7 separate regions of the Homo sapiens genome follow, and all the other regions are linked to region 2. The links are contacts of gene promoters, found by promoter capture Hi-C in blood cells and fetal thymus (Javierre and others, 2016). All regions are on one chromosome and are shown on one strand. Each heading gives the region's core, a stretch centred on a gene start or on the middle of the fragment in contact. The rest is flanking DNA. Distances are from core to core; before and after follow the strand shown. Region 1 overlaps FAR2 (fatty acyl-CoA reductase 2). Region 2 holds the start of CCDC91 (coiled-coil domain containing 91). Region 3 has its middle 180 kb from the start of FAR2. Region 4 has its middle 47 kb from the start of FAR2. Region 5 holds the start of STK38L (serine/threonine kinase 38 like). Region 6 has its middle 140 kb from the start of FAR2. Region 7 has its middle 160 kb from the start of FAR2.

Evidence for each region. The method cuts DNA at HindIII sites, captures the fragments that hold promoters and counts their contacts. A CHiCAGO score of 5 or more calls a contact.
Region 1: a fragment that was not itself captured here is called in contact with the fragment with the promoter of CCDC91 in region 2 in 1 of 17 cell types (erythroblasts); the score reaches 5.8 in erythroblasts.
Region 3: a fragment that was not itself captured here is called in contact with the fragment with the promoter of CCDC91 in region 2 in 1 of 17 cell types (endothelial precursors); the score reaches 6.7 in endothelial precursors.
Region 4: a fragment that was not itself captured here is called in contact with the fragment with the promoter of CCDC91 in region 2 in 2 of 17 cell types (naive CD8 T cells and fetal thymus); the score reaches 5.6 in naive CD8 T cells.
Region 5: a contact is called between a fragment that was not itself captured here and the fragment with the promoter of CCDC91 in region 2, in 4 of 17 cell types (non-activated CD4 T cells, total CD8 T cells, naive CD8 T cells and 1 more). The highest score is 6.8, in non-activated CD4 T cells.
Region 6: a contact is called between a fragment that was not itself captured here and the fragment with the promoter of CCDC91 in region 2, in 1 of 17 cell types (endothelial precursors). The highest score is 5.6, in endothelial precursors.
Region 7: a fragment that was not itself captured here is called in contact with the fragment with the promoter of CCDC91 in region 2 in 1 of 17 cell types (endothelial precursors); the score reaches 9.0 in endothelial precursors.

The regions. Positions count from the first base shown.
Region 1 is chr12:29,162,959-29,166,620 of GRCh38, forward strand. The region is part of intron 1 of FAR2 (fatty acyl-CoA reductase 2); the gene reads left to right. Among named protein-coding and RNA genes, the nearest start is that of FAR2, 16 kb to the left of the region's middle. The HindIII fragment of the contact is 1,765 bases long and covers 1,223-2,987 here.
Region 2 is chr12:28,187,855-28,191,818 of GRCh38, forward strand. CCDC91 (coiled-coil domain containing 91) reads left to right here and starts at 2,602. Exons shown (of 13, transcript NM_018318.5): 1 at 2,602-2,787. LOC729291 (a long non-coding RNA gene) reads right to left here and starts at 2,884. Exons shown (of 1, transcript NR_148936.1): 1 at 1-2,884. RefSeq lists silencers at 2,569-2,618, 2,649-3,078, 3,762-3,964. The HindIII fragment of the contact is 1,439 bases long and covers 1,964-3,402 here.
Region 3 is chr12:28,970,759-28,974,774 of GRCh38, forward strand. No RefSeq gene overlaps it. Among named protein-coding and RNA genes, the nearest start is that of FAR2, 180 kb to the right of the region's middle. The HindIII fragment of the contact is 7,454 bases long and covers 1-4,016 here.
Region 4 is chr12:29,100,800-29,104,566 of GRCh38, forward strand. No RefSeq gene overlaps it. Among named protein-coding and RNA genes, the nearest start is that of FAR2, 47 kb to the right of the region's middle. The HindIII fragment of the contact is 3,674 bases long and covers 678-3,767 here.
Region 5 is chr12:27,241,381-27,245,194 of GRCh38, forward strand. It overlaps STK38L (serine/threonine kinase 38 like), which reads left to right and starts at 2,906. Exons shown (of 14, transcript NM_015000.4): 1 at 2,906-2,952. RefSeq lists an enhancer at 1,617-1,676 and a silencer at 2,735-2,974. The HindIII fragment of the contact is 786 bases long and covers 926-1,711 here.
Region 6 is chr12:29,004,274-29,008,314 of GRCh38, forward strand. No RefSeq gene overlaps it. Among named protein-coding and RNA genes, the nearest start is that of FAR2, 140 kb to the right of the region's middle. The HindIII fragment of the contact is 1,379 bases long and covers 1,725-3,103 here.
Region 7 is chr12:28,988,726-28,992,557 of GRCh38, forward strand. No RefSeq gene overlaps it. Among named protein-coding and RNA genes, the nearest start is that of FAR2, 160 kb to the right of the region's middle. The HindIII fragment of the contact is 3,267 bases long and covers 1-2,962 here.

The DNA of each region.
Region 1 (3,662 bases), core at 855-3,354, 970 kb after region 2:
AGTCATTGCCCTGAAGGCATTTGCAATCCAGTGGAGAAAATAGACAACTAAGTAGTCACTTACATAAATGTGATAATGAATAGAGGCTGTGAGAGTTTGGCAGATAGGACATTCAACTCAGCCCAGAGTGAGGGGAGACCTGGGAACCCCTTCTCAAAGTCTGAGGTTTGCCCACTGAAGGATAGGACAGGATGAAGGATGAATGGAGGACATAGCCTCTAGAGCTAGTCTACAAGATGTGTGACCGTGGACAAATCACTTTATTTCTCTGTGCCTTAGTTTTCTATTTGTTAAATGGGGTTTATAATAGTAACCACCATAGAGTTGATCTGCTAATTCATTCTTCCGTTAGAAGAGTGATTGACACTGAGTATGTGTTTAGTGAGTCAAGCTATTGTCATATGTGAGAGTTACAGCATTACAGTTGGTCCCGAAGTTCTGGAGAAGCAAAGAGGTATTATCCACAGCATTTGTCCATTGTGACAACTGTAGTAGACAGAGAAGAGCAGTGACCAGAACCCAGGAGTTCAGACTATTGTCCTGATTGTGCTCTATGTCTACATCAGATAAACGACTAGATTATCTTTAAAGTTCCTTTCCACTCTCATGTCCTATGATTCTGCAGCTTCTGCTGAGATAGACTTAATAAATATGATTTGAATTCTGGTGGTAGAGAAATAAAGAAATCAAAATCCATTCTTAGATTTCCAGCTGAGTGACTGAGTGAGCAGTGATATCATTTCAAAAGAAACAGGCAAGTCAAGAAGAGATAGGTGTGTGGAGACTGGGAGACAGATTCGTGGATAGAATTTTTAGGTTGGAAGAAACCATTTCCATCATTTTATTTCAGTGTGGTAGAGAGGCAGATATTTCCACAGTTAATCACGGCCACAGAAACAGGAGCCCTATTGCCTAGATCAGGGTTTGTCACTTACTAGCAAGTTACTTGAATGTTCTGCATTTGGCTTTCTTCATCTGTAAAATGCAGGTGAAATGCAGATTGAACCATGCACAATTGCCCTTTGTAGGTCAAAATGGTTGAGTGTTGGCAATTTCATATGGTTTGACCTAATAATAGATACCCTCTAAGGGGCTGTACTGAGAAGTAAATGAGTTCGTGTGTGTTACCTGCTTAGGACAGAGCTCAACACGTAATACAGTACTATGGAAGTGTTTCCCTTATTATTAAGGCCATTTAGCTTTTTCAAAATCGATTGCACCAAGCTTCATTTAGGAAGAACAATCAGGAATTGCATAGTACACCTATTTAGGTCTCTTTCCCATTCTTCACTTATGCAGGCACGAGGCCTTGATGAGGCAGTTAGTCCCTAGGAATACAGCTGGGTTTACTTTTGCCGACGCGGCTGCTGCCATTTTGCTTGTTTCTCATGCCTGCATCTAGACAGGAATTGGCTTCTGCTCCAAAAGGAAATTTAGCATCAAAGTTCTCGGATGAGCTAGCTTCCTCTCCCTGTTCTTTTGTCCTCCACCCTCACTCCCTCCCTAGCCCAACTCTTGGTACCAGCAGGCCTAGTTTCCATCTCCCTCACAGGGTGTGATATTGGTGACATACTGGTCATCCAACATCTGAAGGCCCTTGGTATTCTGGACACCCCGGCTGGCCCTGCAGAGACGGGAAAAGGAGAAGGGCATATCTAAGGCTAAGAAGAGGGAAGAACGGAGGGGAGAGTGAAGGGAGCTCCAGCTCTGAGCCATGAACTGAGGAGTAGGACAGACACAGAGGCTACTGAAGAACCCTGTTCTAGTTGCATGACTTTGACGAGTCTTAGACTGTTCGTGTGATGAGTCTCCAATTGTGCATGAACCAAGATGCAGAGAGATGTTAAAGAAGCAGGAAAAACAAAACTAAACTAAAGATGTATCTTTCCTGTGTCTTTTAAATCACAGGGACACAGTAGCAAGCTGGACACCCTAGCAGTAAAAGCAGTATGAGTGGAGTTCCTTACAGAACTATTTACTTGCTGTTGCCTGGTGTCATAAACAGATTAACGATGACTCATACTGTTGGTTTATAATATATGTTCCAGTTTGTGAATTGTCTTTTCACTTCCTTTTTTGTGTGTTTTTGAAGCACAGAAGTTCTTACTATTAATGTAGCTGAAGTTGCTGAATATTTTCTCTTTGTTTTCAGGTATTTGTATCTTGCTTAAGGAGATGATTCCCTATCTGCTTCACATTTTAAGTAATTAGTATGTAAACCTCTCCTACGTTAGGCTGTGGTTTCAAGTTTGCAACCATTCAAGTTTGCAATAGTTTATTTTCTCTTGTTGGTGTCACCCTAGTGATACATTTTACACAAAAGAAGGAAATACTCTAAGGATGAAATTCAGAATTACAAATTATGGCTGATTAAAATCACCCTTACTAATTACTGAATGTTTCACAAGTGCAAGACACTTTACAAAAAGTTTGTCGCATCAATCCCAGGGATCACAGACGAGGAAAATTAGGCCCACAAAGTTTAAAATGTAATCATTAAGCAAGCAATTAACATAAAAATATAGTTATTATTGAAAGCATAATTTTGGTTAGGAGAGAGTTCCAACTCAAAAATCTCCTTTGAGAACTAACCTAAAGAATGCTTTGGGTGTTGAAATATTCCCATTTTGTTTGAATGTAGTAGACACATTTCTATTAAAAGTAGCATCATATTTGCCTGAAAATCAATGAAAAATGATTTTCTTCTTTTTCGATGATCAAATTTTTCAAGAACAGAGTGTCTTTGTTATCAAGGACAGTTTGGAAAGCAGTTGTACCAAATAGGTAAACATTTGGAGCCTTGAAGAGGAAATTAGCTGTTGAGGTTAGAGTTTCCTTGCAAATTCAATACATTTAAGTTCACAGAGTTCTAATATTCTAATACATGGTAATTAAGAAAAAAAATATAGAACAGAGTTATCAGGTGTCCAAATGTCCTAGATGTTGTTGTATAGGAAAAACAGGAAGCAAATAAACACCTGGTAAAAAGCTTTCTCCTGTCCTATAGCAGTTAGAAGTTGTAAATTTCTTTCATCAAAATTTCAGTCTTGGCTCTGTCACTAACAGCGGCCTTAGCCAAATCACTACTTGTCTCTGATCCTCAGTTTCCTCATCTGTGAATAACAACATCTACACTATTTATCTCCCAAGGTTTTTGTGAGAAGATACTGAAATATGTGCATGAAATGCTTTGAGAATTGTTAATATAAAGTCTAAGATGTAAATTATAAGAGTTGCTGATATATTAATAGTAAATGGTATTGACAGTATCTAAGACTGATAAGGTCTTTTGTGTGTGTGTGTACAGACTTTAATATCTATATCTATACATAATTTTATACATGATAATAGTAATTTTCATTTAAATTACATTTAACACTCCTTGGAGGACTTATTATGTCCATTATTTTATGTGAGTCCCTGAGTAACCTTGTGAGGTGGACCAAGTGTTGTCTTATCTTTCCATGTTGATAATGCAGATCTCTGCTTTCTGACCAAAAGGAAAGCCTCTCCTCTTTGGCAATTTCCATAGCTTCTGTCAGTCCTTGTTGCTGTTGCCCGTCACCTCCAGATTATTCCCTGATATTTATCAAATATGTGGCTCACATATGTCCTCTCCTTTCCTACTTCTGAGAGTATTCTTAACATTGAAGTCCATGTGG
Region 2 (3,964 bases), core at 1,352-3,851:
TTTTCTAGATGTGATTCTCTTAAGGGCAGGCACCATGTTTTTCATCTCAGAAGGTCACAAACTATTAGGAAAATGGGCTTGCAGATACATGTACAACAAAGAATAATAATTGAAGATGGCTCATGGAAAAAGTATTCTGAAAAGTAAGAGAGGCACATGTTCTAGAGAGACAAGAAAAGGCACAATAGAGAAATTAGAGCCCTCATACATTGCTGGTGAGAAAGTAAAATGGTACAGCCACTTTGGAAAACAGTGTGGTAGTTCCACAAGGGGTTAAACATAGAGTTACCATATGACCCCGCAATTCCACTCTTAGGTATATATCCAAGAGAAATGAGAACATATGTTGACACGAAAACTTGTACATGAATGTCAACAGGAGCATTATTCATAATATTCAAAAAGCTGAAACAACCCAACCGATGAAGGGACTTTGAAAACATGTTAAGTGAAAGAAGCCAGTCACAAAAGACCACACATTGCATGATTCCATTTATATGAAATGTTCAAGATAGACAAATGCATACAGACGGAAAGTGGATTACTGGTTGCCTAGGGCTGGGGAGAGGAGGGAGAAGTTGGGGCCAAAGGGTATGGGGTTTCTTTTTGGGGCTGTGAAAATACTCTAAAATCGAATGTGGTAAAGCATGCATAACTCTGTGAATATACTAAAATCACTGAATTGTTTATAAAGAAAAAGATTACTGTGGGGAAGGAAGAAAGATTTCATGGAGTTGGTAGGATTTGAATTCACTGATAAATAAGTGATATAAAAAGCAAAGTGATGTGCTATAGTGAATAAACAAGCCCTTCTGTTGGGCAGATCTGGCTTTAAATCCACTTGGTCAATTTACACTTCCTAAATCTGTAACCTCATCTAAAGTGTAAATATATTAATATACCTACTTTGTAAAATTATTGTGGTAAGTTATATATGGGATTTAAAATATTTAATCTAATGCCAGGCACATAGCAAATATTAATAATAAATATTAGTTACTTATTATAAATCTGTTTAGTATGGAATACAGTTTAGTATTGAATATCGGGACAGAGTGAACATGTAAGTACATCAATGGGAAGGAACTCCCAGAAACTAATCTGGTTTCCAGCAGAAAGAGATATGAGAGACAAAATAATATAAAGGTAACCTTACTAAGTTTAAGAAATATTTATGAATACCTTTTTTCTAACTACTAGACACTTTGCTAGACTGCTGGATACACAAAGACAAATGAGAAGTGAGTAGATTGCTGGATATACAAGTGAGAAGTGGTCCTTGACTTGGTAGTCTAGTAGACAGATAAAAAAATATGTGTAAGAAAGCATTACATTTCTTACAATAGAAATGTTTTTTGTATGCATAAAGAAGGGGGTGGGCTGGAAAAAGAATGTAGTCAAGGTGACTTGCTCAATACTGAAACTGCTCATTAACTACTTAGGCCAGCACTTATGGCAGACTTGTCAGGATGCCTTGCTAATATTTTCCACTTCCAGTACAGAACAGAGATTACAGGTTTAAGCCAATTTTGTTCAACAGATGAGAAACCCAGTGTCCAAGGATGAAAGAATACTTGTTATACAAGGAATGTGAATATTCCAGAGATTTATGCTCAAAGTCCCCAGGTTAGTGTCTTTCTTTCTCACTAGACTGTAAGCTTCTTGAAGACAAATATCTTGAGTGTTACCTTGCTCACTCTTGAATTGTCAAAACTTGGCCCAGGACTAGGTATGTGGTATACAATCAATAAAAATTTGTTGAATGAATGTTCTTCAAAATCCTTCCATGGCAAAAACAGAAGAAACATTCACGAGTGGACTGCTAGTTGACTGTTTCTCTCATCGCTATTGACAGTCTGAAATGGACAAAGACATCTATATAATCATTCCTTCCTTTCAAATAAATAATCTGTGAATTACGCTATTCTTTTCCTATTGCTTCAGGACAAGCTATTTGACAGAAAGCTTTTAAGAAAGGCTTTGCAAGAAAACTCTGCAACAGAGATGGCACGTATGAATTGCTGTGATCTGGAGTTGAAGACAAGAACAAAAGTAACTCTAGAGCAGAATTCTTTGACCAAAGTCATCTTACTGGTTGGCGGAGGCTCTCAGTCTACTTGCATCCGGTGCTTGAGAGTTCAGACAGGCAAAGATGAGAGGTAGCATCTAGTCAACATCCATTTCTTGAGCACTTACTACATGTCAGCCACTTTGCTTAGTCCCCGGTTTTACTGTGCTCTGCTAGGAAGTGGTGAAGAGATTCGGCGGGATCTTCTTAGGACCAATCCTACAAAGTTCCAGATGGAACTCATTTTGATTTGGGGGACGGTTTACTTGCAGGGATTAGGTGGAGAAACAGGGCCTGCTACTCAAGAGGAATGAGAAACTGTAACTAACAGGAGGTAGACTGGGAAGGAGCATGGCAAAGTCACCCCTTTTCACAGGGCAACGCTCCAAAGACCACGCTCAAGCTGGGGTGGCAGGGCTCTGAACATGGGGCCCCGACCCGGGCCTCGGCCTGGGGCCACGTGACGCGCGTGTTTACGTTGAGTGACGGGCGCTGTGTTGGGCGGGCCTTGGCGGAAATCAACTTCCGGGGGCAGAGGTGTTCGAAGCCGGGTGGTGCGTGGGCTACCCCAACCTGTGTGGCTGGGCCGCGGTCTCCCCTCAAGGGCCTGGGGCCGTGCCTCGGGTGTACGCGTAGGGGTCTGTGTGCTGGGGGTGGCTCACCGGGCAGCGTGGGTGAGCGGCGCAGCGGCGGCAGCGGAGAGCGAGAGAGGGGAGCAGGTAAGTGAACGCTCGCCTTCCGGGGCCTGGGTCTTGGGGTCGGGGCCGCGCGAGGCGAGCGGAGAGCGCCCCACCGGGGGAGGAGCGCGGACGAGCTTCCGCCGCCTGCAGCCCGCCTGCTGCGGCCTCGCCCTTGGCTGTCGCAGCGACCAGGAGTCAGGGGGCGTGACCAACCTCCTGCGGGAACGGAGCCAGCTCCCGGGGGTGGGAGTGCCCACTCGTTCCTGCGCTCGCCGGTGGGTACCGGTATCTGCACGTCCCAGAATCGAGTGTTTTCGAAAGTCTACGCCCACGAACACGTGATTATTGTGTCACCGAAGCGCCTACCGAACGGAGACCTTGATTCTTGCTTAGATTACACAGAACGCGCCTGGTTTATGTATCCCCTTTTACTTTGCCAAGTACATTGGGGTAAAAGCTCTACAGCGTCTGCCAGCCACATTTCCTTAGAGTTTCTTGGGCCACATGTTGCAATAAAAGTGGCATTTCAGGGTCAAGGCAGGAGCCAGTAACTTTGCCAAGTGGTGAGGTATCCTTCGTCCCCGTTAGCACGCCTCCCTTTCCCAACAATAAAGATATTTTCTCCATCTGCGCGTGTCGCCTACTGCGGAGGAAAGCTTTGGACATGAAACCTATTTTTGGCTTCACTTTAAGGAGTGGAACTCTATTAAAAGCTGCGCTGGTGTTTTTTTGGTAGGATGATGTTGCTGCTGCTACTCTCACTTGCTTCCTTGATGAGAGTTGGGGCAGAGCTCGATTTCCTGGAGGGTAAAGTCTTGGCCACAATTTTAGGTGACTCAGCGGCCCCTTATGAATTCTGACTCTTTCCTTCCCTCCCCTCTCAGCTGTGCGGATACTGATGCCACCTTTCTCTCCAAATATTAATCCGGGTGGGAGTTGGATGATGGTTTTTGGAAGCAGTTTGCATGTTGCGTGGTGGAGTTATTGGAGTGGGCTGACATTTTACTTCACAATTTAAGGCAACCCTTCCCCCCCCCACAATATTTAGTTGGGTGGGGTGACAGGGACTGACAACAAATTCGCTGTTGTGTTCCCTGCTGTCGGAGAGTTCTACACTTAATGATCACCTGATTGCCCTCTGCTACAATTTCTATTGCGTTGAGGGGATTGGTTATACTGTCTGTACCTATTAGGTAAATGTAGTAAGGGTCATGCC
Region 3 (4,016 bases), core at 1,143-3,642, 780 kb after region 2:
GAAACCCGAATAAGCCATGCTAAGTTCCTCCCAGTTTATTACCATTAGGTCATATCCCCTCTTTGTCTAATTTTACTTCTACACAGCTATCCATTCTTCATCAAACCTGAGCATAAAAAATACACAGTTTTCTCTGAATCTTTGGTCTTCATTTCTGAATATTGTCATGTCACAGAAAACCTTGGTCAAATAAACTTGTTATGTTTTTCTCTTGTTAGTCTTTTATTTGTTATAGAGGTGTCAACCATAAGTCTTGTGATGGATGAGGAAAATATATTACTTTTTCTCCCCTACATTTTATGTTTGTTTTTCCTGAAAAGCCATATTTTGTTAAATGAATCTACCCTATCTTTAAGAGGTAGTACTCTTTAGGACACACTGTCTTCCATTTAGACCCTTTCCAGGAATATGCCCTCCTTTCCTCAAGGAGAACTCAAAAAGAACATGTATTTTATTCATTCCTTTGTACTTAAATATGAGCACTCACTCTGAGCCTGCAATGGGCTAAAGATTGAAATTGTATCTGTTCCTGGTGGCATTGGCAGTCAGTGGTACTCACAGTCCACTGGGAGAGACTGATGGTGATAAGGGTGCTGTTATGAGATGCTGTGGAGACACAGAGGAGAAGCAGCTAAGGCAGAGAGAGTCAGAAAAGGCATCCTGAAGAAAACATACATCTAAACCAAGATTTGAAGAAGAAATTTGAATTAGCCTGATAAAAAGGTAAAGAGAAAAGACTACCAGAAGCACTATAGGGAAACAGCCCTTAGATACGAGACATGCTGAGAAGGTCTAAAAGTAGATACGTGACTCAATTATCTAGTAAGACTTGGAGAGCCATTGCTGTCTGAATTTGTGAAGCTAAAGCCAATATCCGAAAAATGTAAGGGGTTTTTCTAGAGTTCATCCAACACTTCTCTCTTGTTCCTAATATCCTAAAATTCCAGGAAAGTTTATAAAGTATTTTGATATTATTTTCAGCCTAAAAGATCCCGGAGTAAGAAATTTATGGAAGTTTACAGAAGTTACAGGATGAATTAATCAGTGCACATCTGGCCTGTGGTACAGTGCAGGTGCATCAGAGATGTCAATCAAGGCAAGGTAGTGAAGGACAGCATGCAAGACAGGGGAAGATTAGAACTGCCATTTTTCTATTATCAAGATATGGGTAACAGTAATTATTTTTCCTTAGCATTGGTACACACATGGATATGTATATTATCATGTCTCTAAGTTTAGGATTACTTGTTCTATAAAAAAATACAAAATTATAGGAATGTAAAAAATTGGAATTAGAAATATCATTTTTACACTTGCTTTTTTGAAAAATACATACATTTTAATCTGAAGAGTTTATATAATTTAATTTTATTGTATCCCTAGCACACGGGGAGTTGGTTATTTTTTGTTGTAATAACTTCTTGGGCATTTTTTCAGTCTTGACTTTAAACTCAAATCAGCTCAAGGACTGTATTTCCTACTTTACATGGTTATCCTATGTCTTAGCATGATATTGAGTTCATGGTAAATCATTAAGAACTATTTTTAAATGAATAGATAAGAGAGCTACCAACTTTAATCAGAAATGGCCATGAAGAAGGTAGAGTTTCAGCCTGGCAGATATACCAGGGAAAGTGGTTATAAGTTTAGGAAAAAATGCAGGGCAAGACGTTAAATCGAGGACTTGGGGCTTTCAACCTTGGGTGATAAGTAGATTTTCATAGCTAAGTTGTTAGTTGTGCACACAGAATGATAGAAAACTGGATGGAGGGTTTGCTTGCTTTTATTAAAGTGATCAATGAGACCATAGTTTGTGCTGGAATTTTAGGGCCAATGGTGATGTTGTGGAGTCTATGGATGAAGAAGCTGGTTCTAAAATGAGGTTTGTAAAATTATGTAGGCAAGGCCAGCAAAAAGTATGAATCCTGTGTAAGAACCTCCTCAGCATAGCATTCATTTTTAAAGATCATGGCTTCCTGGCCAGACTGCCTGGGCTCACATCTCAGCTGTGTCACTTACCAGCTGTGTACCCTGGGGCAACACATTGTGGGCAGCCTCTCTATTCGTCATATTTCTTATGTGTAAAACAATGATAATCATATTTACCTGTTATACCAAAGATGAAATTAGTTAACACGCATTAAAATAACATGATGATTTTCATACACATAAAGTGCTTAATAAATGTTAACTTGTTATTTTATTACCTGGTTTATGGAACTTTAAATGGCCCTACCAATCCAGAAATCTCTGCCATGGATTACTCTTAGCTCCTGTATATCCCAAAATTCTCATCTTAGAAAATTTAAGTCAAAAAGAGGCAACACTCTAAAGAAAGATTTCCAAAGAGCCACTCTTATAATGCACATAAATTATGTGAAAAGGGAAAAAATTATTAAATTATTAAATTGTGGGCTTAGAAAGGTCTGAGCATCTTATCCAACCCCATCATTTTACCAATGAAGAAAGCAGGGTCTAGAGAAGAGAAAATAACCTCTCAAAGTTTAGTGTGGACCCAAAAGTTTCTACCTCCCAAATCTTTTTGATTGTTTTACTTTTCCATCAAACCTTCTTCCATTAATATAATTGCTAAGGTAGCAGTTCATTAATTGGCTGGTTGCTCAAAGGCCTCAAGAGAAGACCCTAGATAGCTGAAGAAAAGTAGAGAACACCCTTTCTGGCATCCAAGGAACAGCAAAACATTTTTTAACCAAGGAGCACCCCAGATAATAAAAGAGGAGATGGGAAGGAGGAGAAAAAGGGCAAAATTTGGGTAACTCAGAAGTTTTCTTCCATCATGTGAAAAGGTATGAGGTGCCAGATGGAGTGGCTCATTGCATTCCTTGGGTGTTTGGTTGAAAGGATAAAAACGAAAGAAGCAGGAATTCCAGACCATCTATTCTAGAACTTTACAGATGGAGAGAAGTAAACACCCAAAACCAATGAATGCTCTGAAGCATACCATAACTAGATAAAGAATTTAAATGTTGGCTACCCTCTTGATGGAAATTGGATCTTAGTGAAACTTTTTTTCTTTCTCTCAGCAAGATTGGATGTCATACAAGAAATGTCAAGTCATATATAGCTTTGTTCTGAGAAACCTGTGGGTCTTCAGGTTTTCGTTACAACAGTTAATAATGGTTTCCATGTGATTCCAGAATAGCATAACTGTAAGTAACGATCTAGGACATCTAAATGTTTTAACTCGGTGCTTTTAGCTTTTCTGCAATAGGCAAGCAATGTGTTTTACTGGTAAATTGTATTTTAATTTATGTTTATGCTTTGTCAATGACTTATTTTAAGACTAGTAGTGTTCATGATTAGAGAGATTCAAGACACCAGATTTTTGCTGTATAATTTTTTACATATACTCAAATGCCTTTAGACAAAACAAGAACCTAATTTAGCCACCCACCAGCCACAGAAGTATCTGGGGCACATAATATTTTTCCATGGTGGCCAGGGTGACTGCTTTTTGAGCTTGTTTATTTGATCTGGGAAGACATAACTCACAAACAGCATCTGGATTTCAGAGATTCCTATATTTGCCCCCAATTCTCCCTTTCAGTCAATGGTATCCAAATGACTCATCTGCAAGGTCAGAGAGTTGAGTTGCTCGGCAAGACTAAAATGCAAGACTCTCTGGCTCATTCCCTGTAACCACCAAACCCCACAATCTCTGGATGTGTAGCATGGGAACCTGCATGAAGTTTTGCCAAGACCACCAGGTTACTGGGGAAAAAACAGTCTTGACAAGGTTAAGAGTGACCCTGGAGAGGTGTAGAGCTTGTTTGTTTTATTTAAGGAGTTCCCTGTAAGAGCAGAGGCCGGGGTGGGGTGGGGTGGGGAGGAGAAACTTTTTTTTTTTTTTTTTCATCAAAAGGTGTGACTGAGAACTTGCAATTTTTGATGACATGTTTCTCCCTGAGAGACCTTCACTGTTGGCAGACACAGTTGAGACACTGATGAAAAGCTGTGGGGCATAGTTTTTTGAGGCCTCCAAGAGAAACCCCACA
Region 4 (3,767 bases), core at 1,265-3,764, 910 kb after region 2:
ATTTTCTCAAATTTTAAGCCTTACATGATCCTTCTCTTGCCTGAAATTAGGCTGTCCAATGCATACATTTTTTTGTATCCTGCCTGGATCACCCTAATTTGCCCTCCTTTGTTGGGGGGAAGAGGGATATATGTATATTTATGAACCCAGAGACAGAAATAAATGAACAGAAAAAGCTGGTGGTTCTGATTCTTTGCCATAAAACTCCAGGAGTTCAGTGAACTAAACTATGAAATTCTCTGTCTCTCTAACCAAGTGTCACACTTTGCCTGAAAATCACTAAAGATGTGGTTACAACTAGCTGTGTTCCTGTTATAAATAATGAGCCGATATTGATGTGTTATCATCAACTAATGTACATAGTTAACATTAGAGTTTACTCTTTGTGCTGTATATTCTATGGATTTTGACAAACGTATAATGATATATATTCACCATTACAGAATACTACAGACTACTAGTTTCACTGACCTAAATATCCCCTGTGCTACACCTATTCATCCCTCCTTCCTTCCGCTTGAGCTCCTGGCAACCACTTATCTTTTTAGTGTCTCCATAGTTTTGCCTTTTTCAGAACATCATATAGTTGAAATCATACAACACATTGCTTTTTCAGATTGGCTTCTTTCACTTAGTAAAATGCATTTAAGTTTTCTCTATGTATGTCATGATTTGAAAGCTTATTCTTTTTTATCACTGAATAATATTTGATAGTCTGCATGTACCACCATTTATTTATTCATTCACCTGTTAAAGGACATCTTGGTTGCTTCCAGGTTTTAGTAACTATGAATAAAGCTGCTATAAACATTCATGTGCAGGTTTTTGTGTGGACATAAGATTTTAACTCCTTTGGGTAAATACCAAGGAGCATATTGCTGGATCATATGGTAAGAGTGTGTTTAGTTCTACAAGAAACTGCTAAATAGTCTTCCAAAGTGGCTGTACCATTTTGCACTTCTACCAGCAATGAATGAAAGTGCCTATTACTCCACATCCTTAGCAGAATTTAGTGTTGTCAGTATTTTGGATATCTGCCATTCTAATAGTTATATAGTGGCATCTCGTTGTTGTTTTAATTTAAATCCCTACTGACATATGATACTGAGCATTTTCTCATTTGCCATTTGATATCTTCTTTGATTGTCTGTTGAGATATTTTGCTTATTTTTAATTGGGTTGTTTGCTTTCTTACCTTTGAGTTTTAAGAATTCTTTGCATATTTTGAATACCAGTTCTTCTAGATGTGTATTTTTCAAAGGTTTTCCCCCAGTCTGTGGCTTGCTTTATTCTCTTAACATTATCTATGTAAAGCAGTTTTTAATTTAAAAAATCTAGTATACTAATTTCTTCTTTAATGGATTGTGTTTTTCATGCAGTATCTAAGAATTCATGGCCAAACCGTAGTTAATCTACCTGTTTTTCTGCTGTCTGCTGGGAGTTTTATAGTTTGGTGTTTGGCACTTCATTAAAAAAAATAGTGTTTTCTACTATATTTGTCGTGATATCCAAAAATTCCCCACAAAAAATAAAAAGTCTTTTCTGACTAGTTATTTTCTACTTCTTCTATGGATTTAAATCGTTTTAGTCTACTAGCTTATAAAAATGAGTATTTTCCCTTGAAACAATTTTTATGTGCTTTTGGCTAAATGCATAGTTTACAAATAGACTGCAGATGAGCTAAAGATAAAGAGAACTGTTATCTTCATAATAATAATAGAAGTGCTTCCTGGTAAAATTTGCCCTGTAATCGTAGTCATCTTTAGAATGACTAAGGGATTGATTCTATCAAGAAGCCTATAATTGCTCAGGTCTCATCTTCAAGGTTAGGACAGACCACTAGGTTGGGTAGAAGAATATAGAGTAGTAAAGTGGAGGGGGTTTTTAAATGTTGTTTTAAACTCCCATATTTTGAAACATTTGCAAATAAATCAATTTTTAAATATAAAACAAACAAATAAAATTACAAAATTTAAATACATCAAAATGATAGAAAAAGAAAACTACTAAATACGTTAAAAATAGGTTGAATACAATGAAACTCACACCTGTACTTCATTCCATTGTCATCAGCCAGTCAAGGAAAGATACTGTGAGATCTTATGAAGCCAGCCAAAAAGAACTGCGGTTTTATTCATCAACTCTGGGCAGTGAAGCCTTTCAAGTACTGATAGGATCTGTAGCTACTGACTACATCAAATATTTTTTATCATCAGTTAACACACTGCAGAAATAATGATACCTACTTTGCATTTTCCCTATGTGTAACTTAACACAAGGTCATGAAAACTATACAACTTTGCATTTTGGAAACCAGGGTACATGTCAACAAGGGCAGGATTTCTTTTGCAGAAAACAACTAAGTTCCCTTTGCTGTTTTCATTTTGATAGGTTTTTTTCCTGAGTCCTTGCTGGAATAAAAACGATCATTTTTTTACAGTATTAGATTGGAATGAGTGGTTATATTTTTCAGAAATTTCATTGATATTTCTTACTACATTTCTTTATTTTGCTGTTTATTATGTGATGATAGTGGTTAATATTTATCAAGGGCTATATAATACCAAGCACTGTGCTATGCAATTTGCATTGATCATCTTGTTAATTTTCATACTAACTGATAAGACAGCTTTATTTTTATTCCCATTCTACACATGAAGGAAGACTCTACACATGAGTCTTGGACTTTAATGATTTGCCTGGAGTAACACAGGCAAATTCAAACCCAGGCCCTCTGGCTTCAAACCCCATGCCTTACGCTGTCTCATTGCAATATTTTCTTATGAGTGTTATGAAATTGAAACTGAAACTCAGTGATTATCACCAATATCTCCAAATTTCTAACCGGTTTCTTGCTTTCAGGGTTGTTCCTCTCAAGTTTATCCCATGCACAGCTACCACTGCGGTTTATCGAAAATGAAACCTACTCATGTCATTTCCTGCCTCACACATTTCGAGGCTTCTCCATGTTCTACAGAATAAGATCTAAGATCCTTAGCACAGCATCCAAGAGCCTCTCTGTGCAGGCCCCTGCTTCACATCCCTCAGTTCCCCCTTCCCACATTTACATTGTCACCATAGGGAACATCTTGTGCCTCCTCACACACACTCCACAGTCTTTTACCTTGTTTCTGAATCACACAAGCTATTGTTTTCTGCATGCATGGTTCTTCCCCACACTACACCAAAGCCTCTTTCCATCAGGGAAACATTTCCTATTTGTCTCCAAGAATCCTTCTCTTACCAAACATTCCCTTGCCCTCTACACTTCATTGGTTGATGCTTTCCCCTCTGCACTAGCAGAATATCCCCTAGAATTTTATTTATGACACTATATTACAGTAATAATACTAATGTCAGCATCTCCCACTAGACTATGGGTTCTTCAAAGGCAGGATAGACCTCACTCACTTTTAACTATGTATAGATCTTGGATGATGAAGAAAGAAGGCCAGTGCTGAGAGCTAGGAGAATGATCGAGTTATTAGCCCTACCTTTGGATGGTTCTCCATTACCATGTATCACTTTAGGTGCTTTTGGTTTGCTACCAAGAAAACCAAGGAGTAGAAAGAGGGAAGCGCAGTGGCTCCACTTCTCACCTGAGCCTAGTTTGAGGTCTGCAATTCCTGAGACATTACCAAGGTTCTTTTGTGTTTTCAGCTCCTGAACAGTTTGCTGTAGGTGGGACAGATCCTAAAAGAATCGTGTTAAGTGTATTAATGTTCCATCTAGTCTCAAAATAGAACCAGGAGTTAGGAAACATGTTG
Region 5 (3,814 bases), core at 69-2,568, 950 kb before region 2:
TATATTACATATATGACTCTGTATAGTTATATATATTACATATATGACTCTGTATAGTTATATATATTACATATATGACTCTGTATAGTTATATATATTACATATATGACTCTGTATAGTTATATATATTACATATATGACTCTGTATAGTTATATATATTACATATATGACTCTGTATAGTTATATATTACATATATGACTCTGTATAGTTATATATATTACATATATGACTCTGTATAGTTATATATATTACATATATGACTCTGTATAGTTATATATATTACATATATGACTCTGTATAGTTATATATATTACATATATGACTATGTATAGTTATATATATTACATATATGACTATGTATAGTCATATAGTTATATATATTACATATATGACTATGTATAGTCATATAGTTATATATTACATATATGACTATGTATAGTTATATAGTTATATATATTACATATTATGTAATTTTTTCACTAAACTCAAACTGAAAATTAGCATTTCTTCCATCATGAATGTAGGCAGCAAACCACAGGAATATTAGCAATACCTGTGACTTTTCCTCAATAGGAATCACACATATTTTCTACCCCATTAAAGTTGTTGTAGATATCTCAAAATATTGTTTCTGTGTATCATTACTACAAAATTACTGTAGGTCTTGATCTTATTATTTAATGCATTAATAAAGAGGCAAATATATAACTATTTTAGTTATCTATGGCAGTGTAACATAGTATCCCAAAAGTTAGTGGCTTAAAACCACAAATATTTATTGTCTCACAGTTTCTGTGGGCCAGAAATCTGGGCTTGGCTAGTTGGGCCTGCTGGCTCAGTATCTGGTTTTACAAGGCTGCAGTCTAGGTGTCAGGTGGGGCTGCAGTCATCTCAAGGCTCAACTGGGAAAGAATCTACTTCCAAGCTTACTTACATGATTATTGGCAGTATTCAGTTCATCACAGGTTGTTGGACTGGGGGCCTGAATTCCTTGGTGGCTGTTGACTGGATCTCTCTCAGTTCCTTGCCATGTGGGCTTCTCTGTAAGGCAGGTCACAAGACAGCAGCTGGCTTCCATGAAAGCGAGCAAGTGAGAGAGCAAGGACAAGCAAGATGGAGCCCAGAATATTTTTGTAACCTAATCACGGAAATGATATCCTAATCACTTTTGCTATATTTCCTTTTTAAGAACTAAGTTACTAGAGAAGGGAATTACAGAAGGCAGGAATACTAGAAGGCGTGGATCATTGGCAGCCATCTTAGATGCTACTACTACTTACCACATAATTATATTACAAACTCACTTTTTAGTATTTTGGTAACTGTATGTTAACATTATCAATTTCCTTTGTAACCCTAGGTAGTTTATGCATTTAAGAACACTGTTTTGAAAAGGGGTCCATAGACCACCAAAATTCTGGTTCATAGCTCTAATTTGTTTCAGTTGAGGTACTTTCAACAACTTCCCAGGGAAATTTGTTTACAATGGTCTCAATTTAGGAGAATTTAGGAACTAGAGGTCAAAGTCTTAGGCTATCCCATATTAACCTAGACTGCTACTCTATACTAGTTCATATTACTCTAGTATGGCACATTTGAAGACATAAATTTGCTGTGGAACAAACCATACACTGTTCTCAATCTTATCGTAGCATTTGAATGGTATGTGTATGCGTGCAGTACAGGGAGAAGGGTGTATAGGCCTGTCAAGCTTGTCTGATCACAATTAAACCTCCTATGCTTGTATATGACAACTGTCATTTGAGTTTCAAAATGACCATATAAGTGGAGCTGATCTCCCCAAAAATACACTAATTACCAAACTAGAGCTTTTCCCACTACTAAGCTATGTATGAAAAAGCACAGTGTAAGAAAGAGAAATGAGGTAATGCTTCTTTCCTAGGTGTTTTGCTCGTGTCACCTGCTCTTGGGAAACCTAAAGATGACAGGTGGCATTTCTAAGTGATAGTTTTTGCAAGCACAGTACCAGCTTCATACGTTGTCTCAGTAAGCTAAAAGCTAAGAATATTTTATAAGACCTCCAATACTCATATTGAGGATAAACTTGCCAACAATAATTGGGAGTCATTCTCTCATTTGGCTTTCCCAAAGGCCAGTTTTGTCCCCAGACGCAAATTGCATCAACCTTCCCAAAGTTGTCCCTTTTGGGTCATCCTATAGGGGAGTGCTCTTCTGCACAATTCTCAGATCCTACTGATAAAGCAGGCCAGTACTGTAGTTATTTTAGATTTTCCAAGAAAACTCAAACAGGTTTTTAATGTATTTTTTGTGGCATTTACAAATCCTGGTTCCTCTCCAGTCTCTGGAGTCCCCTCATGGTGAAATGGAAGCGTCAAGGAACCTGGGTGGCTTCGAGTCCCCACAGCTACCGACTGAGCAACTTAGCTGATCCATCTTTGTTGACAACTGTTTCCCAATCTGAAAAATGCGTGAATTCTCTCTTTCCATTTCTAACATTCTTTGCATTGCACTGTTTGAAAAATTCGGATGACATTTAGAATGTGACTAATGTCGCAACACATTAGGCCACTCTCAAGAGAGGCCTGAACAGGTTTGGCGTAAAAACGGCAGTGAGGTGAGGCTGGTGAGAGGGGAAGTGGCGACAGTTCAGTCAACTCCCTCAAAACCAGTCTGGCCTTCACCAGGCGGAGATGGGTGGGGCCGGGAAGACGGGCGTTGACGACAGAAGGCTACTTCCGGCTGTGGTGCGTATGACGTCAGGGCGAGTCGGACCGACCCAGCCACCGAGAAGCCGAGGAGGCAAGGCTCGCGAGAGTTCAGGGAGGCCGCCCTGAGATTCCGGCGAGGCCGCGGGTCCCACCTCCCGGGGGCGGGGCGAGGGCGGAGCGGGGAGAAGGGAGCTGACGGGCGCCCGGCCGGCTGCGGTCCGTGCGGAGGCTGAGCCGGCCGCGGGCGCGACCGGAGGCAGGTGAGTTCGCGGATGTAGCGCTCGGCTGAGGGCCCGAGCTCGCCGCGCCAGCCCCAACTCTGCGAGCAGGAGCAGGAGGAGATTTTAGGTGTCTTTGGGTGTCCAGGGAAAGCCGGGCTAATTCTGGGGCTGGAAATGTCTCCGGGGAACCTGCGGCGACGGCCTTGGCCCTCTTATTCCCCGGGGTGATACTGGCCCCATGTGTCCAGAGAGGGAGCCTCGCACCCGGGGAGGAATCTTTGTCCTCTGCTCCTTTCTCCTTCCACTCCCCGGCCCCCGAGCACTCCGCTCCGGGTCCCCGCCTGGGCTTCACAAACAATAACAAATGTCGCGGATCCTCTCCGGGTAGCCCCAGCGCTCCCGTCCCGTGCCCTCCAGCCGATGTCACCCAGAGCCAGGATCCGAAGCATGGCTCTTCAATTGTGGGGGCTGTTTGTGTACCGTTCCTAAAAACTGATGCGTCAGATTGCCAAACATTTCTCAAGACAGACTCAGGAAAGCCTCCCAGCTCCTAGAAGCCACGGAGTGCTCAAAACCAGTCTTAGAATCTGTCTTTACCATTGCACCCGTAGCCCCTTCCTTTCAAAATCATTTCTCCCACTCCTTTTTTCACCTTTAGTATCGAGGTCGAACGAGTGGTTATTTGGTGTGGGAGTAGAAAAGAGTATAACCGATTGAGTAGGGCACGTTTCACCTTTAAAAAGTTGCCAGGTTGACAGCAAAAGAACAAACTTTATTTTCAAAACCAGTGGCCTCCCCTTTTACTGGTGCTGCTTTTGTTTTGTGGAATAGCTTTTCGGGTTCTAAGTTTGGAGGAATGATATAAAAAGAAGTGGGAGGTGGGGGGAGGGCTAGTGGCTCT
Region 6 (4,041 bases), core at 1,164-3,663, 820 kb after region 2:
ATGTGATTTCACAATACCCTTTGGGGTTCTTTTGATTCTGACCTTCTATGATGCCAAGGCTTTAATCTGCCTCACAGAAGTCTTTTGAGTAATAATAAATTGTTTCATGATGTTCATTAGTGGTGATTTTTTGCCTAGGGCCAATGTATATATAATTGTTAATATTTGCAGATTCAGCTTTTTTCTTGATAAATTCATTTATAATCTAGTCACTCTGATCATATATCAAATTTAACAAAAATGTATTTGAAAGTATAAATGACAAGCTTTGACAAATTATATTGATTACAATTTTAAATAAAAAAATGGAGTGAGCCACAGATTCAACTCAGATTAAATTTGATACCTCCGGGAAGTTTAACACACTTGGTCAGTCTTCTTAAAAAGTTATCAAGGGTCTAGCAAACTGATTGGTGGTATACAGATGAGCTGCATGAGCAAGATGAAAGACCATATTCATTTGGGCAGAAGAAAAATTGCGGTGTTGTTTGAAATACTGCTGATGCCACAAATTATAGACTTGAAATTATTACAGCATCTTTATCTCTGTTTTCTACAAAACTACATAACTTCATAGTAATATCTTATGGTGATGGTTTTCTCCATTCTGTAAATAAAACAGAAACAATTTTTGTTTCACGATTGAATGAGAATTCAGACTTGAGATTATGGGTAAATCTTGGAGTGTTCCAAGTTTTGTCAGAATCTATCAAGTCTGTGAAAAGTTATTTTGAAACAAACATGCTGACAGAGGAGAGGAAAATGTCGAGCAACCGAGTTGAAGCAGAGACCTTTCATTTAATTAATGAGTGTTATCAGAGCCTCTGTCTGAGTTTCTTAATATTCCTGTCTGTGCAATGTATTCACTCACTGACATGAGCCATGAAACAAACTGTGATCTATGTATTTTCATTATTTCATAACTGAATGGGCTCATGTTAATAATTTTTATAGTTGATTGTTGATGAAATCTTTTATCTTAGCTGTCTTTCATCAGAAAGGTTTTAAAGCTTTTTTCTTCTTTTAAGCACTGGTAATAGAGAAGTAGAATTAAATATATAAAAGCCCATCAAAAGAAGAGTGTAATTAAAGGCAGCTATATTGTCCTGGCAGTTTTTTAAATGAAGCTAAAAAAAAATAGCCTTCCATTTTGATTGAGCAACACATGTAATCAAAGTGCCACTAACATTCTTAATTTAAATGAGCAGTTTCATTTAAACTTTCATTTGTTCCTAGGGGTTTCTTTTCATCTACGGCTAAAGAGTATACACTTGGGTAATATTGGCCTTAATTTGAAAAGCTGACAGAATAGTCTTATAAAACTTCTCTTGGACGTTATGAAAACCTAAAATAGTTTCTCATTATTTATATAAAAGCTTCCACAAAGGGATTCTGATTTTTCAGTCCAACTTCCTTTTAAGTTACTTGTCTTTGTTGTTATAATTTGGATATTTGCCCCTCCAAACCTCATATTGAAATTTTATCCTCAATGTTGGAGTGGGGGTGCCTAATGGAAAGTGTTTGGGTCATGGAGGCCGATGCCTCATGAACGGCTTGGTGCCATCCTCGTGGTAGTGAGTGAGTTCTCGCTCTATTATTTCCTGTGAGAGTTCCCCTGAGACTTGATTGTTAAAAAGAACCTGGCTACTTCCTCCCCGTCTTGCTTCCTATCTCACCATGTGATCTACACATGCTGGCTCCCCTTGGCTGCCCCCCTGAGTGGAAGCTTCCTGAGGCCCTTGTCAGAAGTAGGTGTTGGCGCCATGCTTCTTGTACATCCTGCAGAACCACGAGACAAATAAACCTCATTTCTTTATTAATTATCCAGCCTTGGGCATTCCTTTATAGCAACACAAACAGACTAAGATATAGGTGTTTCTTAAATTTTAATACTTTGACAATCTGCACCAGGACTTCAGGAAGTCATGTAAAAATGCCAATACCCAAATTTTGCCAGACAGCCTGATTAAGTAGATCTCTATGAAGTAGAGACCAGGAGTTAAAAGCCCTCCCTCCAAATAATGTTTAATTATCTAAAATTGAAGAATCTTTTCTCTATTAAAAATTAACATGATTTTCATTTTCACAGAGATGTAGAAACTAGGACTATATTTACCCTCCCACCTAAAAAACTGCCTTTTAAAAAAGATAAAATATAATGAACAATAGTTTTCAGACATTAGACATCAAACAGTGCAGTGATCTCCAAGAGAATGGATACAAAATTAGATGATCCCCATGATTACCCCAGCAAAGGTTTCCAGGCCTCTGCACAGGGAAGGAAAATGCAGGAATTGCCCAGTTATCTCCCAAAGTAGAACAGACAAGATTTGTGACTTTGGAAATGTCCAAGAGGCTAGAGTATTCAGGCAAAGAGTCAGAAAGGAGAGGCCTGCACAGACAAGAAGTCCCCCAAAGCAACAGAATCCCACCCTCATTTCTTCAGCTGAGTACTGAGCATGATATGCATGTGAAGAAACTGCCCAAGCTGGGGAAAGAATTACCTAAAAACCAGAGGGAAAATCTTACACAGTTTTATGATTCCAATTACATGACATTCTGGAAAAGGCAAAACAATGGAAGGAGTAAAAAGATCCCTGATTTCCAGGCCTCCAAGGGAGGAGGGAGAGGTAAATATGTAAAGCACAGGACATTTTTAAGCCAATGAAACCATTCTACATGATACTGTAATGGTGGCTGCATGACATTATGCATTTGTCAAACTATACAACACTAAGATGAACAATAATGTAAAGTATGAACTTCAGTGAACAATCATGTATTGATATTGGTTCATCAATTGTAACAAATGTGCCACACTAAAGCAAGAAGTTAGTAATAGAAATAACTGTGCTGAGGGAGAGGGATCATATGGGAGCTCTCCGTATTATCTGGACAAATTTTCCGTAATTTGAAGATGCCCTACAAAATAAATCTGTTTTATAAATAGCAGACATGCAAAGAAGAAAATGCAACCCATAATGAGGACTAAAATCAATCATGCAGAGTCTCAGAAATCAGACAGATGATAAAATAGTGGACAAGGATAACAAGGATACTTATAACTCTACTCCAAAAGTTCAAGCAGGTAGAGGAAGTACTAAGCTTGTTAACTAGAGACCTGGAGAATATAATACCAAAAATCTATCTCTAATGATGAAAAATACAGCGTCTGAAATGAAAATGGGTAACAAACCCATAGACACAGGATCCTATCTCAAAAATGAACCCCAAGTTTTAATTCAATAATTTCACCTCTACCTTAAGAAACTTTGGGAAAAAAAATTAAACATGAAATAATTAAAAGAAAAAATAACAGTAAAAGCAGACAGAGGTAAGTGGGATAGAAAACAGAAAAACAATAGAAAAATGTAATGAAAACAAAATCTGTTTGGGGATCAATTAAATTGATAAATGTTGTAATAATTAATTTTATGCATCAAACTGACTGGGCCATGGGGTGCCCAGATAAAACATTATTCTGGGTATGTCTGTAAGAATGTTTCAGGATGAGATTTGCATTTAAATCAGTGGACTCAGTAAAGTAGATTGTCCTCCCCAATGTGAGGGAGCATCATCCAATCTGTTAAAGGTCTGTATATAACAAAAAGTGGAAGAAGAAGGAACTGACTTATTTTTTCCTGCCTCACTGCTTGAGCTGGGACATCTCATCTCATCTTCTGTGCTTAGGCTGGGATTTTATACCAGTGGCTTCCCTGGTTCTCAGGTCTTCAAACTTGGACTGAATTACACCACTGGCTTTACTGGGTCTCTAGCTTGCTGATGGCAGATTGTGTGACTTCTTGGCCCTATCTCTGAATACGGTTACATTGGGAGTTAGGGCTTCAACATACAAATTGGGGGTGAGGAGGTACAATTTTGGCCATAACAAGAGAAAAAAACATATTACTGTATTTGTAATAAGAGAGTTGACAACACTACAGATTATTTAGGCAATAAAACTATATTAAGGAAACATATGATTAACTTTGTGATTTACCCATATGTGTATATCCTTTAGGTTCTCTTTTTCTGAAAAAC
Region 7 (3,832 bases), core at 79-2,578, 800 kb after region 2:
AAAACATTACTGAAAGAAAACTGATGCATGACTTTAAAGCAAATGAAAATGAATACTATGCTGGGAGTTTTAAAAAATGGATAATAACCAAGTTCCTATCAAATCACTCATTAGCTATGTAACCAGGGGCACGTTACCTCCCTCACTCTCCTACAAAATAAGAGCATATTGCCCCTAAGGTGTTTTCTATTTCTCCAACTTATAAAAGAACTTAAAATAACTATTTATTTTAAGCAAAGCCTGTGGAAAAATGACTCCCCCCTTTTTCTGATTTGCCAAGATGCCCTCAACCTGACCCTGGGAGGAGGACTTGGAATTTTAAAAGAATGGACTTTCCTTTTATGCTTCAGCTTTTGGAGCTCGGTTACGTTAGTGTCATTTATGGAGTGAGATGCTGGAAAGCAAACAGTAAGTTTAGAAAGTAGGATGCCCTTTATGAGTCTGAATTCTTGCAGAAACTTTGGGCAGAAACTGGCTTCCAAAAAGCAGCACACTCACTACCACTTTCTCTCTCACTCTCCCTTCCTTTCCAGGCCCCCAGCAAGTCACCTGTGTACTGCCTTTAAGAAACACTTTTCTCTTTTATACCCCATGAGCACTTAAGAAACTCTTGGTCAAACTCTTTTCGTACCGGAAAATTCGTTGTTTCACTGTGGCCTCAGTAGCAATAGAGACTTATCTCTTTAGCTAATTAATCTTTGTCCAAAATCGTATATCTAGATTCAGCTTTATTTAGGGGACAAGTTGTAATTCTTCCTTCTTCTTACTTGTCCCTGTTTCCTTTTCTATTCTCTGAGCCATCTTTTCCTGTTGACAAATTGCCCCAGTCCTCCCTGAGGACTCGCCTCCAATCCTCCCCCAATGTCAAGCACTTCATCCATCTTTGTATTCTCTCCCTTTGCCCCATTTCTATGGCCTTACTGTCCTTTGACCGTTTGTCAGAAGATATTTAGTAAAGTACCAGTATACAGCAAGCCTTAGGAATTTCAGGGGAAATTTACCTGCTCCGGGCCTCAATTGCTCTAGTCCTGAGTCATCAGGTACAGCATATGGTCTGCTTGTCTCCTCCCTCAACAACAGTTGATACAATAATAAATTTGCCTGCACAGATTTTTTATTGCTCTCACTTGTTTTTATTAACAATAAAAAAGGACAGAAAATTGAGAATAAGAGAAAAAAGGTGACGATAGAAAAATTGAGTAGACGTATTCTCAGGTCATCTTTGAACAAATTAAGAGAAGCTGAACCACAGCCAGGCACGGTGGCTCACGCCTGTAATCCCAGCACTTTGGGAGGCCAAGGTAGGCAGATTGCCTGAGATCAGGGATTCCAGATCAGCCTGGACAACATGGCAAAACCCTGTCGCTACTAAATATACAAAAAAAAAAAAAAAAAATGAGCTGGGCGTGGTGGCACACTCTTGTAATCCCAGTTACTGGGGAGGCTGAGACACGAGAATTGCTTGAACCTGGTAAGCAGAGGTTGCAGTGAGCCGAGATGGCACCACTGCACTCTAGCCTGGGTGTCAGAGTGAGACTATTTCCCCTCACCATCCCCCCCACAGAAAAGTATAACTCATCCTTTACCTGAATCCCTGAATTTGCTTGGCATAAAAAGTCCTCACATAATTGGATGAGAGTGAACTCATTGCTTATTGGGTTATTGGGTAGCACTAAGGCAATATAACTCTTATGTGAGAATAGAGTCAGGACATGATAGCCTCTGATTACAAAGATGGTCATCTATCCCAATGCCTAATTTACTGAGAGATATGTTTGGAAGATCTGAGAAAGTGAAAGCTAACACAATTAATGATGGGATCCGAAGAAAAATATCAGCAAAGCATCCCGGTTCTGTGCTGCAAATGCCCTTGGTATCTCTGCTAGATCTGTTACTTTCTTAGCACGATTTATTAAATAGAGGTGAAAGCACAATTACCCATTGATCAATGGCAATGAGAATTGAACTCTAATTCCCTTCAGATCCTCTTCTTTATAGCTGCTTGGATTGACTGACTTAATCAAGTGGATGTTTATGGATTAAAAGTGAGAAATGAGTTTTTTCTTTTGTTTTGTTATTTAATTTGAGCTTTTACATTTGAATATTTAAGAAAAAAGGAAAAATTAGGCAAGTAGTACATCACTAACCACACACACACGCACACACGCACACACACACAGAGGTTGATCAGACTCTACTTGCTATTTATTCATAGTGTGATCATCTCTGGACCAGAAGCATGGACCTCAATTGGAAACTTGTTAGAAATGTAGAATCTTGAGCTCCACCTTAGACTTATAGGCTCACAATCTGCATTTTAGCATGAGGCCTGGGTGAGTTGTTGAAGCACTGTCCTCTAGCCATTCCTAAAAGGAGCAGAGGGAGCAAAATCTAATGGGAGAGAAGGAAGGCATATAATTGGGAAGAGAAAGGTGAATGCTGAAGTGCATTTCCGATCCCTGTTTTCAGCCTATGTCAAGCAGACCAACTCTTCCTTTAAAAAGTTGTAAAGTAGGACAATAATCAACACACTGCACTTTGTTGTTTTTAAGGCATCTTAGAAATTCTATCTGAAACTCAAATGGGTGCCTCCAGCAGAATTATGGTATTTTACACACAACTGTAAAAATCACCCAGGAAGGTTTTCCTCAGGCAGTATAACTGGGTCTCACATTATGGTATCCGGTCCAATCAGTGCTGTTTTTCTAAAAATAAAATAAACTTTTTATTAAAAATAAGCATAACCATAAATACACAATGTTCTCTAGTTGCTAATTGAAACAACAATGCACAATTTAGTGTAAAATGAAAAAGAAATACCTTTTGGTATCTTTTTCACTAAATAGTTTTCAATTGCTGTTTAATCTAATTGCTTTATATCCATAGAAACAAAACTTACCACAAGCCTTTCCTTAAAGTCAAAATAGCCTTACAGGGATATAGGACTTCAGCAGCATTTTGAAGCTTAAGCACAATTTGGCAGACCACTTTCTTCTACTTTAAAGCAATACCTACGTGCAAACCATTCATTGTACACTCACAGCACTTCAAATATCTTAAATGCTCCCTCCTGTTTCTGCTGGGCCTTTGATAGTGAGACAATTAGCTTTTTGATACAACCCCTATCATAAAAGAAGGCCTCCTCTTTACAATTCACCCATCCAGTGGGCACCAAGATTCTCTGATGAAACTAGACATGCTGTCTCTCCTTTTTCCCTCCGAGACTCTGAGCTTACCTTGAGATTTTCCTCAGAATTGATTTTTACACCAACTTAAATAAGTGTCTATACACTTTCCTTGCTTTTCCAGATACTTAACAGATCTACTTTTAATGAAAGGTGACAGACCATTTTCCTCTTTTGAACGTTTGTTTTTAAAAGAAAATAGGCTTTTACATCAACCTACACAGTAGTTTTTCCACATGAAGACAAGGCTTGTTTGTTTGAAGAAGTCTCTGCTGGTTGTGCCTATTGAGATGGCAAATTACAAAGAAATGATTTGAGTATGTTCTACTTTATTTCAACATAATGATTTGCTTGTAAAATACATGAGAGGAAGAAAAATTCATGAGGATATTTTCAAGATCAGAGAACTAACTCAGAAGTAGGATTGGGATCATCTCGCCTGAAGATAAAAGTTCTTAACCATATGAAGGTTAGAAATACGGCTTCCAGAGTTTACTGCCTTGGTTCAAAGCCTGCCTTCACCAAAACTATGTTGGCAAATTGGGCAAATGACTTATCTGTGCCTTGGTTTCCCCATCAGAATAATTTTTAAAAAACTACTTATTAGTGTTGTCATGAAGATTGAGTTAATATGCACAAAACACCTT